2 separate regions of the Homo sapiens genome follow, and region 1 is linked to region 2. The links are contacts of gene promoters, found by promoter capture Hi-C in human tissues and cell types (Jung and others, 2019). All regions are on one chromosome and are shown on one strand. The core of a region is centred on a gene start or on the middle of the fragment in contact, and the rest is flanking DNA. Distances in the headings are between cores, read along the strand shown.

What was found. Contacts are between HindIII fragments. The study calls those that stand out against the background at their distance.
Region 1: a fragment that was not itself captured here is called in contact with the fragment with the promoter of WBP1L in region 2 in 1 of the 25 tissues and cell types used here (mesendoderm cells).

The regions. Positions count from the first base shown.
Region 1 is chr10:103,318,668-103,324,867 of GRCh38, reverse strand. All of the region lies in intron 8 of PCGF6 (polycomb group ring finger 6), which reads left to right. Among named protein-coding and RNA genes, the nearest start is that of PCGF6, 29 kb to the left of the region's middle. The HindIII fragment of the contact is 7,312 bases long and covers 1-5,528 here.
Region 2 is chr10:102,742,527-102,747,969 of GRCh38, reverse strand. WBP1L (WW domain binding protein 1 like) reads right to left here and starts at 4,022. Exons shown (of 4, transcript NM_001083913.2): 1 at 3,827-4,022. The coding sequence starts at 3,916. SFXN2 (sideroflexin 2) reads right to left here. Exons shown (of 12, transcript NM_178858.6): 12 at 4,478-5,443. RefSeq lists enhancers at 3,156-3,385, 4,326-4,375 and a silencer at 3,886-4,045. The HindIII fragment of the contact is 7,220 bases long and covers 947-5,443 here.

The DNA.
Region 1 (6,200 bases), core at 623-3,122, 580 kb before region 2:
CCACCATGCCCAGCTGACCCTATTAGTTTTTTTTATGGATTAAAAGAGATCTCCTGTTCTAGCTATGTAATATTTTCTTTTTTTTTTTTTTTGGTTTTTTTTTTTTTTGAGGCGGAGTCTCACTCCGTTGCCCAGGCTGGAGTGCAGTGGGGCGGTCCCGGCTCACTGCAACCTCCGCCTCCCGGGTTCAAGTGATTCTCCTGCCTCAGGCTCCTGAGTAGCTGGGATTACAGGCCTGTGCCACCACACCTGGCTAATTTTTGTATTTTTAGTAGAGACGGGGTTTCACCATGTTGTTGGTCAGGCTGGCCTCCATCTCCTGACCTCGTGATCCTCCCGCCTCGGCCTCCCAAAGTGCTGGGATTACAGGCATAAGCCACCGCGCCCAGCCATAATATTTTCTTCTTGTTGTACGATGGAAACCTCAAACTTCATGTATCATTGAACATAAAAGTAAAATATACTCATAGTTCTAGTTCTGTGGTCCAGTTAGTAAAAATGAACATTTATATAGCTTTGCTTTTTCTTTTTTTTTTTTTCATTAGTCAAATTTAAAAAGCCTTTTTGTTATTCTCCATCATGTGTTAAGTTTTATAGAATAATTTTTTATCTAAAATACTGTGTATTGTGGCTGGGCACAGTGACTCACCTATATAATCCCAGTACTTTGGGAGGCCAAGGCAGGTGGATCATTTGAGGTCAGGAGTTTGAGACCAGCCTGGCCAACACGGTGAAACCCTGTCTCTACTAAAAAATGAAAAATAGCTTGGCATGGTGGCACACTCCTGTAATCCCAGCTACTCGGGAGGCTGAGGCTGGAGAATTGCATGAACCTGGGAGACGGAGGTTGCAGTTAGCCTAGATCATGCCATTGCACTCCAGCCTGGGCGACAGAGTGATAATCTGTCTCAAAAAAATAGTAAAATAAAATAATAAAATACTGTATTGTTAGTTAAATTAATAGATATGTTAAAACAGTGACTGGCCATGTGTAGTGGCTCATGCCTGTAATCCCAGCACTTTGGGAGGTCGAGGCAGGTGGATCACCTGAGGTCAGGAGTTCAAGACCAGTCTGGCCAACGTGGCGAAACCCCGTCTCTACCAAAAATTAGCCAGGTATGGTGGCGCACACCTGTAGTCCTGGCTACTCAGGAGGCTGAGGCAAGAGAATCGCTATTACCCGGGAGGTGGAGATTGCAGTGAGTCAAGATCATGCCACTGCACTCCAACCTGGGCGACAAGAGGGAGACTCTATATCAAAAAAAAGAAAAGGGGCCGGACGCGGTGGCTCACACCTGTAATCCCAACACTTTGGGAGGCCAAGGCAGGTGGATCACCTGAGGTCAGGAGTTCAAGACCAGTCTGACCAACATGGTAAACCGCATCTCTACTAAAAATATAAAATCAGCCGGGCGTGGTGGCGCATGCTTGTAATCCCAGCTACTTGAGAGGCTGAGGCAGGAGAATCACTTGAACCCAGGAGGCGGAGGTTGCAGTGAGCCGAGATGGCGCCACTGCACTCCAGCCTGGGCAACAACAGCAAAACTCCAACTCAAAAAAAAAAGTGACTGAAAGTTTGCTAGTGTTTTTAGTACCGATATTTACTGGTAGTAAATATATACTAAATCCAGTGAAATATGACTTCTCTAACTGAGCTTGACATATCCTGGTTATATCTCATGGCAGCTGAAAACTAGAAATGACTTATTTTTACCTTGTAGCCACAGCACACTTGAGGTTATTCTTAGGTTTTTGTTAGAGACAAAGCTGGTTAGTGACTCCTGGATTAAGAATTATGAGTGATCCCATAACAGCCTGTTATTTCTAAAAGCAGAAGACTTGCCCTTATTATAGAAAAAGAAGTGATACCCAGGAGGACCCTCTCTAGAATACAGATTATTCTATGGCTATTTATGTGTCTGTGTGTGTGTATGTTTTGTGTTTTGTGGGTTGTTTTTTTTTTTGTTTTTTGTTTTTTGTTTTTTTTTTGGTGGCAAGGATAACATACTGTGTTGCCCAGGCTGGACTTTTTGTGTGTGTGTGTGATACAGAGTCTTGCTCTGTCACCCATGCTGGAGTGCAGTGGCACAGTCTTGACTCACTGCGGTCTCTACCTCCCGGGTTCCAGCAATTCTCCTGCCTCAGCCTCCCAGGTAGCTGGGATTAGAGGTGCATGCCACCATGCCCGGCTAAATTGTTTGTATTTTTTAGTAGAGATGGGGTTTCATCATTTTGCCCAGGCTGGTCTCAAACTCCTGGCCTCAAGTGATCCTCCTGCCTCAGCCTCCCAAAGTACTGGGATTACAGGCATGAGCCACTGTGCCCAGCCTGTTTTTTTAATTGACAGAAACAAAATATTTTGGGCTGGCCGTGGTGGCTTGCACCTGTAATCCCAGCACTTTGGGAGGCCAAAGTGGATGGATAGCTTGAGCCCAGGAGTTTGAGACCAGCCTGGGCAACATAGCGAAACCCCAGCTCTACAAAAAATACCAAAATTAGCTGCACACAAAATTAAGCGCACACCTGTAATCCTAGTAGTCCTAGCTCCTAGGGAGGCTGAGGTGGGTTGAGCCTGGGAGATCCAGGCTACAGTGATCCATGATTGCACCACTGCACTGAGCCTGAGCGACAGCAATACACTGTCTCAAAAAAAATAAAAATAAGTGAAGTGAAGGCCAGGCAAGGTGGCTCACCCTGTAATCCCAGCACTTTCAGAGGCCGAGGTGGGTGGATCACCTGAGGTCAGGAGTTCAAGACTAGCCTGGCCAACATGGTGTAACCCTGTCCCTAGTAAAAATACAAACATTAGCCGGGTGTGGTGGCACATGCCTATAGTCCCAGCTACTTGGGAAGCTGAGGTGGGAGGATCCCTTGAACCTAGGAAGCGGAGGTTGCAGTGAGCTGAGACCATGCCACTGCACTCCAGCCTGGGTGACAGAGTGAGACTCTGTCTCAAAAAAAAAAAAAGTGAAATGAAATAAATAATATCTATTTATTGTATACAACATGATGTTTTGAAATATGTATACATTGTGGGATGGCAAAATTGAGCTAATTAACATACCATTACCTCACATTTTTTGTGGTGAAAACACTTGAAATTTCTATTCAGCAATTACAATATATTATTATTATTATTATTGTTTGTTTCTTTGTTTTTGAGACGGAGTCTCTGTCACCCAGGCTGGAGTACAGTGGCGCGATCTCGGCTCACTGCAAGCTCCGCCTCCCGGGTTCATGCCATTCTCCTGCCTCAGCCTCCTGAGTAGCTGCGACTACAGGCACCCACCACCACGCCTGGCTAATTTTTTGTATTTTTAGTAGAGACAGGGTTTCACCATTTAGCCAGGATGATCTCGATCTCCTGACCTCGTGATCCGCCCACCTTGGCCTCCCAAAGTGCTGGGATTACAGGCATGAGCCACCGCGCCCAGCCTACAATATATTATTACATATAGTCACCATCTTGTACAGTATTTCTCTTCTAAGTTGATTTTGTTACCTAAAAATGTGGGTTTCTTTTTTGCTTACATCATAGAATTTAAGGCTTTTAGCATTTTGAAATAAAATGATATAAAGGCTCATACCTGTAATCCCAGCTACTCTGGAGCCTGAGGTAGGAGGATCACCTAAGCTTGGGAGGTCAAGGCGGCAGTGCATGATGAGACCCTGTCTCAAAAAGAAAGATATAAAATTTGTTTCAACCTTTAATTTTCTTTGTCAGCTCTTGGCTCTCTAAATAAATATTCTACCACTCAGCTACTGTATAGCTGGTAATGTTCATAAATTATTATTTAACCAAAATGTTAGAATTATCAAATATACAGACCCATTAATTGGGGACTAAAATTGTTGAGGCCTAAATTTAAGGTAGAGTAAGTAATTAAGAGTTACTTCTAATATGAACAAAACATTGAGCTGGTTTGCTAGTCATCAGACTACAATTCTTGGTGTCCTGCAGTCACGAGCCTGCTATGCTGACTTTCTTTGAACCAGTTAGTCCCAGGTGGGAAATGTGTGCATGGTTTACAGATATGTGACCTTCATTTATGGTTATTTACTAACAGGAACGAGTAATTCCCACGGGACTGTTAAACTTTAAAGTTTTTTGTGGCAGATCAAATTTTAAAAACAAGACAATTCCAAAAGTTTAAAAAATACAGATCTTTTTTTTTTTGAGACAAAGTTTCACTGTTTTTGCCCAGGATGGAGTGCAATGGTGCGATGATGTCGGCTCACCGCAACCTCCGCCTCCTGGGTTCAAGCGATTATCCTGCCTCAGCCTCCTGAGTAGCTGGGATTACAGGCATGCGCCACCATGCCTGGCTAATTTTCTAGTTTTTTTAGTAGACAGAGTTTCTCCATGTTGGCCAGGCTGGTCTTGAACTCCCAGCCTCAGGCAATCTGCCCACCTCGGCCTCCCAAAGTGCTGGGATTACAAGTGTGAGCCACCGCGCCCGGCCATCATGTGTTCTTAAGAAAGATTTAAGTTCATTTAAAATTTAGAGATCAATAATTATCCAAATATGTTTCTTTCTCATAGAGACTCCAGTGTCTCAGGGTTACTGTGGTTGATTTAGTGGTATTTACTCTTTGATGTCTTATTGTATTTTGCTTTGTTTGATATTCAGACCTTATTTTGCTTTTATGAGATGAAATTTAGAACATACACCTCACATTGATCACTAAAAATTCTTCTATAAGATGTGATATTTGATTTTGTTAATCCTGCCATAACTAATTCCATCTTAAAAGTTAGGCTGGCCAGGCATGGTGGCTCATACCTGTAATCTCAGCATTTTGGGAGGCTGAGGCGGGCGGATCACGAGGTCAAGAGATGGAGACCATCCTGGCCCACATGGTGAAACCCCATCTCTACTAAAAATACAAAAATTAGCTGGGCATGGTGGTATGCACCTGTATAGTCCCAGCTACTCGGGAAGATGAGGCAGGAGAATCACATGAATCCAGGAGGTGGAGGTTGCGGTGAGCCGAGATCGCACCACTGCACTACAGCCTGGCGACAGAGCAAGACTCCATCTCAAAAAAGTTAGGTTATTATTATTACTTATTTGGTGTATGATATTAAGCCTTCTATTAAATTTAGTTTCCAAATAATTTTTTAAGGACTAATATATGATGTTTCCATACCATTTATTATATATTGTTACTAAATTGAGGGTCTATGTATTTGACCTTAGGAGTACAAAGATGAGACAAAATTCATGCCATCAGGGGACTCAGAATTTTGTAGGAAAGATATATAAGTAAACAACTAACTAACAATAGGATGTAATGAATGCAACAGTGGAGATAACACAAAAGTGAATGATTTAACTCAGGAATGGGTTTGAAGAACAAATAGGAATTTGCCAGACACAGAAAAAAAGAACTTAGTAGCAAAGAAGAGTATGTATGGCCAGGTCCGGTGGCTCACGCTTGTAATCCCAGCACTTTGGGAGGCCGAGGCGGGCACATCACAAGGTCAAGAGATCGAGACCATCCTGGCCAACATGGTGAAACCCCGTCTCTACTAAAAATACAAAAAAAAAATTAGCTGGGCATGGTGGTACGCCTGTAGTCTCAGCTACTCAGGAGGCTGAGGCAGGAGAATCGCTTGAACCCAGGAGGCGGAGGTGGCAGTGAGCCGAGATCCCACCACTGCATTCCAGCCTGGGCGGCAGAGTGAGACTCCATCTCGAAAAGAAGAGTATGTATGATCAAAGGAATGAGCCAGTGTGGCTTATCAAAGCACACTGATTGAAAAATCTTAACTTGGAAGCTCTAGCATGATCTTGCTTTTAAAAAGATGAGGACTTTTTCTCCTTTTAATAAGACTACTTTCATGGTCTGATTTCTGCTCTGAGATTCAAAAATATTTTTGTTATCTCTTCTTGATACTCCAGAGGGTAAGATATTATGCACAAAAGAGTTAACGTATCAGCCTTGAGGCTGCTGTCGTTAGAAGGGCCTGCTTACAAAGCTGGCCTTTGGCTATCGAGGAACTAGGCCTGCAAAAAGTTTCCTACACTAATGTGAAAAGTTTTCTAACTGCAATTTGGTAGTTGTTAGACAGCGAGTGCCAACAAAACCAACTTTTTTTTTCTTTTTTCTTTTTTTTTTTCAGACAGAGTCTCGCTCTGTCGCCCAGGCTGGAGTGCAGTGGTGCCATCTCAGCTCACTGCAGCCTCTGCCTCCCA
Region 2 (5,443 bases), core at 2,773-5,272:
CAAAGTTTTAAGCCTGGCAAAGGAAAGGTAAGGACTGCATCTCTAGAGATTTGTCCCTAAACCACTGGCTGAGTTACCCTATTAAAAAAAGACATTTCTACCAAAACTTTGTTTTAAATAACATAGTCAAATATTCTGTTTAGGCTGGGCAGAGTGGCTCATGCCTGTAATCCCAACACTCTGGGAGGCTGAGATGGGCAGATCGCTTGAGCCCAGGAGTTTGCGACCGGCCTGGGCAACATGGCGAAACCCCATCTCTACAGAAAAATACAAAAATTAGCAGGGCGTGGTGGCATGCACCTGTAGTCCCAGTTACTCAGGAGGCTGAGGTGGGAGGCTCGTTTGAGCCTGGGAGGTCGAGGCTGCAGTGATCCAAGATCACATCACACCACTACACTCCAGCCTGGGCAACAGAGTGAGATCCTGTCTCAAAAACAAAACAAAAACAACAACAACAAAAACAAACATTCTGGTTAAATCTAAACAACCAAAAGAAACTCTATGTATCTCAATGATAATTTAACTGGAGGAAACAAACGCCAAGGCTGTCGGAGCCTTACTATTTGGAGCATCTACTGTTTTCTCATTCTTTTTTTTTTTTTTTTTTTTTTGAGACGGAGTCTCGCTCTGTCACCAGGCTAGAGTGCAGTGGCATGATCTTGGCTCACCACAACCTCTACCTCCCACGTTCAAGCGATTCTTCTGCCTCAGCCTCCCGAGTAGCTGAGACTACAGGTGTGCCACCATGCCTGGCTAATTTTTGTATTTTTAGTAGAGACAGGGTTTCACCATGTTGGCCAGAATGGTCTTGATCTCCTGACCTTGTGATCTGCCTGCCTTGGCCTCCCAAAGTGCTGGGATTACAGGGGTGAGCCACCATGCCCAGCCTTTTTCATTCTTTATAGATTTAAGGATTCACGTCTGTGAGTTGTAATGTCATAACCTGTAGGAGAGTTAAGTCTAAGTTCCTAACCACAGAATGAACTAGCTGATGAACTTTCCAGGGCCTGCCTGCATAAACAAGAAATGGCTGTTTCAGTGCAGAGCTGGTAACAGGGAAAGCAAGTTGCCTAGTATCATTTATTTCTGATGGTAAATGTGTATGTAAAAAAAAGATTGTGCATGTAAAAAAAAGATTGTATTGTAAGTAGATCAATTTTGTGGGAGAAATGCAATAAGGTACCAATACCATTATTCGATACAGAATGAGTATAGTAAGTCCTCCTGAATTCAAAGTTAGCTGGACTTCATTGTTGAATTAAGGACCATGGGTACTTAAAGTATGCCCTGTGCCAAAATGGCCTTGGGATTTTTTTTTCCTTACTGATTTGTACAAGCAACCCCTTCCCCCACCCCCCCCAAAAAAACCCAAAAAAATACACTGACTAAATTGCGGTGGATTCAGAGTTAATAATTATATAGTAACTTGCATTCCGAAGGTTAAAATTCAAAACAGAAATCTCACTATAGATATCTAGTACTCCCAGACAGAAAGAGACAGGAGTATAAGGTGGGGGATGGAATTGTATAGGGAGCGTCAGGAGTGAGGGTATGTGGGGGCTGGTTAGGAAGAGGGCCACTGCTCATTACGAAAACTTTCCCTTCTCTGCAGGAATTGTAACCGTGTAACAGCTGTTGGTCAGTGATAGCATTCATCCAAATGGAACAAAGTACAAAAGACACCTGTCCCCAAAATTAAGTATTAGAAGTGCCACAGATATAAGAAAGCAGCCTGTGGTTTGCAAACTGCAATTAGAATATAACATTAACAATCCCCTTCCACATGTTCACAACACCTCCCAGGCTCCACGACCTGGTAGGAACCTCCACTTTCCATCATCCCCGTTGCTGAAAAAGTGGATCTAGTTCCTATCTTTGACCAGCCCATCTCCAAAGGCTCTGACATTCCTAAACCAAACCTCTACCGATGTTATTTATTGGTTACTGGGGACAGCCTTTTCGAGATACTTACAGAAACAGACATGTGCAAAGGAAAAGTAAATTCTGTATTTACTATATTCTATATTTTGTTGTCAATACCTATACTTAACTTTACTGGTCCTGAGGGCTATAACATTTCTAGTAAACAAAAAAAATATATTTCTTCTGCCAGTTTATGATTTCCACTGGAAAAACAACCCCAACAAAGGCTAAAACAGAAGGGTCCCAACCCTCGAAAAGGGAATACACTGGGCTAGAAAATGAGCTACATTCCTTTCACATGGTATTTCTAGTATACACAAACATATCCTGAGGAAAAATTAGACACTTCAATGCATAAATAAATTGTGGTTTACAGATAACAGAATGTTACTTGGTCATGAACAGGAATGAAGTACTAGTACATGCTACGATGTGGATGGGCCTTATAAACATTACGCTAAGTGAAAGGAGCCAGGCACAAAGACCACATATTGTAGGATCCCGTTTATATAAAATATCCAGAATAGATAAATCCATAGAGACTGAAAGCAGACGGGTGGTTGCCAGGGGCTGGGGGAAAAGGGAGACAGAGAGTAACTGCTTAGTAGGGACGAGGTTTTCTATTGGGGTGATGAAAATGTTTTGGAACTAGATAGAGGTGGTAGTTGCACAACATTGTAAGTGTACTAAATGCCACTGAATTGTTCACTTTAAAATGGTTTTTGTCATGTGAATTTCAACTTATTTTTTAATCAGTATTTTAAAATAGAGGATAATGGGCAAAACAAGATGTATTTGTGAAAAGGCAGCCCTAAAACTCCTAGGGAAAAGATAAGTATTTTTGCTGGCACTCAGTTTCTGCTCTTGTTCACAACACAAGTTCAAGCGCTAAGTTGTATAAACTTTGCCACTACGCTATGCGTCTATGTGTGTATGCCTTTCTGAAAAAACGGGGAAAAGAACAGAAAGTGAAGAAAAAAGAATCATAAAGCTTTGCCACATGCAAGGAAGGAGGGGTGATTGCCCCCACTGCACCCCACCCAACTTGGCACCAGGAGTAACGCTCCCATTAGGGTTTTGAAATGCCAGCTGGAGCTGGAATCAGCACAAGCAAGCTTCTCTGCCTGGATAAAGAGCAAGCCACCCAGCAAGAAAAGCTAGGGTGCTCCATTTGCTGCCCATATTGGCATCAGAACCACCCTCTGGTCAAAAGCCCTGAGCTGGCTCAGATCAGCATCCGTGACTTGCTCTCCCAGGCCAGCCAGCCTAACAGCAAGAGCTTGTTACAGCTCAAGTGTGCTCCTCCTCCTGAGGGGTTCCACTCTGTTTCATCCCACCTGCCTTCTGAGAGTCCTCCCTCCAACCAAGTGCGCCATGGCTTACAGATTTTAAAATGGGGCCAAGTCTCTCCCAGGAACATAGTAATTTTTTTTAAACGTACTAAGATGCCCTCGGAACTTTCCCCAGTCCATCCTTAAAGAAATATCCTCAGGATCCCCTCCCTCACAGGCCAACTCAATAGCCTGTGTACCCCTACACACACAGACGTACATACTGCATTACTGCCTGGGACACCTGCTCCACAGAGGGACACGAATAAGGCCCACATCCTCAGCTTGGCACCGCTATCCAGCCACAGTCACCCCAGCCCACCTAACCAACCTGCCGTCTCAAACGCCCCTCACTCGCTTGGCATCATGCCTCTGCCACCTCCTTGACACCAAAACTGTCACAGGTGTCCCTCAGCTAAATACCGACGCCCCTTTAGATCCTGTCCACGCCAGGCATAGACGCCCCTCTCGGGACCCCTCAACTCTTGGCAACAACACTCCTTCAGACCCCTCCAGCCAGGCCTCGACGACCCCCAGGACCCAACATGGCCCAGACGCCCCCTCCCCCTTACCTGCGGGGGTTCAGCCCTGGCTGACAAGGGGCTGGGCAGCGCCTGGAGGAGCAGGAGCGCCATGCCACCCAGGAGCCTTCTCCTCTCCATCCCCCTCCTGCTCCTGCTCCTCCGCCACGGCGCCGCCACCTCCCTCCTCCTCCTCCCTCTCCTCCTCTACCCTCTTCTTCCTTCTTCCCTTCTTTTCCTGTTTGACGCTCCCCTCCCGCTTCCGGCTCTGCTCCACCCCGCCCCGCGCAAAACACCCTCCCAGACACGCGAGAGACTCTCCAGTTCCAGCGCTTCATTGGCCTTTGCCCTTTGTCCATTGATCAATGTAGCTGTCGATCAAATATAAGTCCCGCCTTCCCCTGAAGACGAAGCGATGCAGCCAATAAAAAGTAGGAGGAAGCCGGACCATCTTGAATGCTGCGAAGAAGTGTAAAATTCGTCCCAACCCGCAGAGAGTGGCGGAAGCAGCTTCATAAGGGGGCGGGGCCACCCAGGTGGATGGAAAAGTCTATTTCTGATGTAGCCATCTTGAGTGTGGCGGAAGTACTAGTTTTCCAGTTTTCCACATCAAAAAAAGAAAAAAGGTTTAATGTTTCTCAAGGGTGTTGGAAAATAAATTATTCCTGAAAGGTAACCAGGCGCTCCTGAAGAGGAAAACAATTGCAATGTAAAAATATTTTAATGTCTTTTGTCTTGAAGCACAGCACTATTACCAGGATGCCTCTCTTGGTCTCAACTGCCCAAATAGCAGCTTAGGTCCGTTTGAATTCCCTAGAAGATAGTACCTTTATCTGAGGCATAGTGCTTCGTCACCCCAAGTTCGACGGACAAAATTCTGGTTCTACTTCACAAATTGCTCTGAAATCCATCATCCATTGCTTCAATCCATGTTCTTCTAGCTAAATACAAATGGCTTCCCTGCTGCCCTGCAAGTTGACAATTCTTCCTCTCAAATTTCCGCCACACACTACAACCATACCACATTAAACCAAATATTACTATATCATGGCCTCTTCTTTTAAATACTTCATCTACCTACAGAATAGAGAGTCCAAACTTCCCAACACGGTCCTCTCTGTGACTTCGTCCCTGTCTACTTCTCTTTATCTCACCTCTCACCACTACATTTTCCCACACATTCCACTCACACTGACCATTGAAGAGATGCCCAGTAACTTCATTTACATATTACAGATACAGTTCCCTGCTTACAAACTCCTAGCCCCATCTCCTTGCTGCTTCTTCTGGATTCTTGTAACACTTATATCTGCGTGCCTGGTTTGCAGTTTTTTGTACAGCATACCAGGTCTTTCTTCTTCTTCTTTTAAAGCCTATAATATCCTGTACAAGGCTCAACCAGAGCTTGATCAATGTTGGTAAAATAGCCAGGTGTGGTGGCTCATGCTTATAATCCTAGCCCTTTGGGAGGCTGAGGCAGGTAGATCCCTTGAGCTCAGGAGTTTGAAACCAGCCTGGGCAACATGGAGAGAACCCTGTCTCTACAAAAATAAAAAAACTAAATTAGCCAAATTAGCCAAGCATGGTGGTGCACACTTGTAGTCCCAGCTACTTGGGAGGCTGAGGTGGGACAATCACCAGAGCTAGGGAGATTGAAGCTGCAATGAG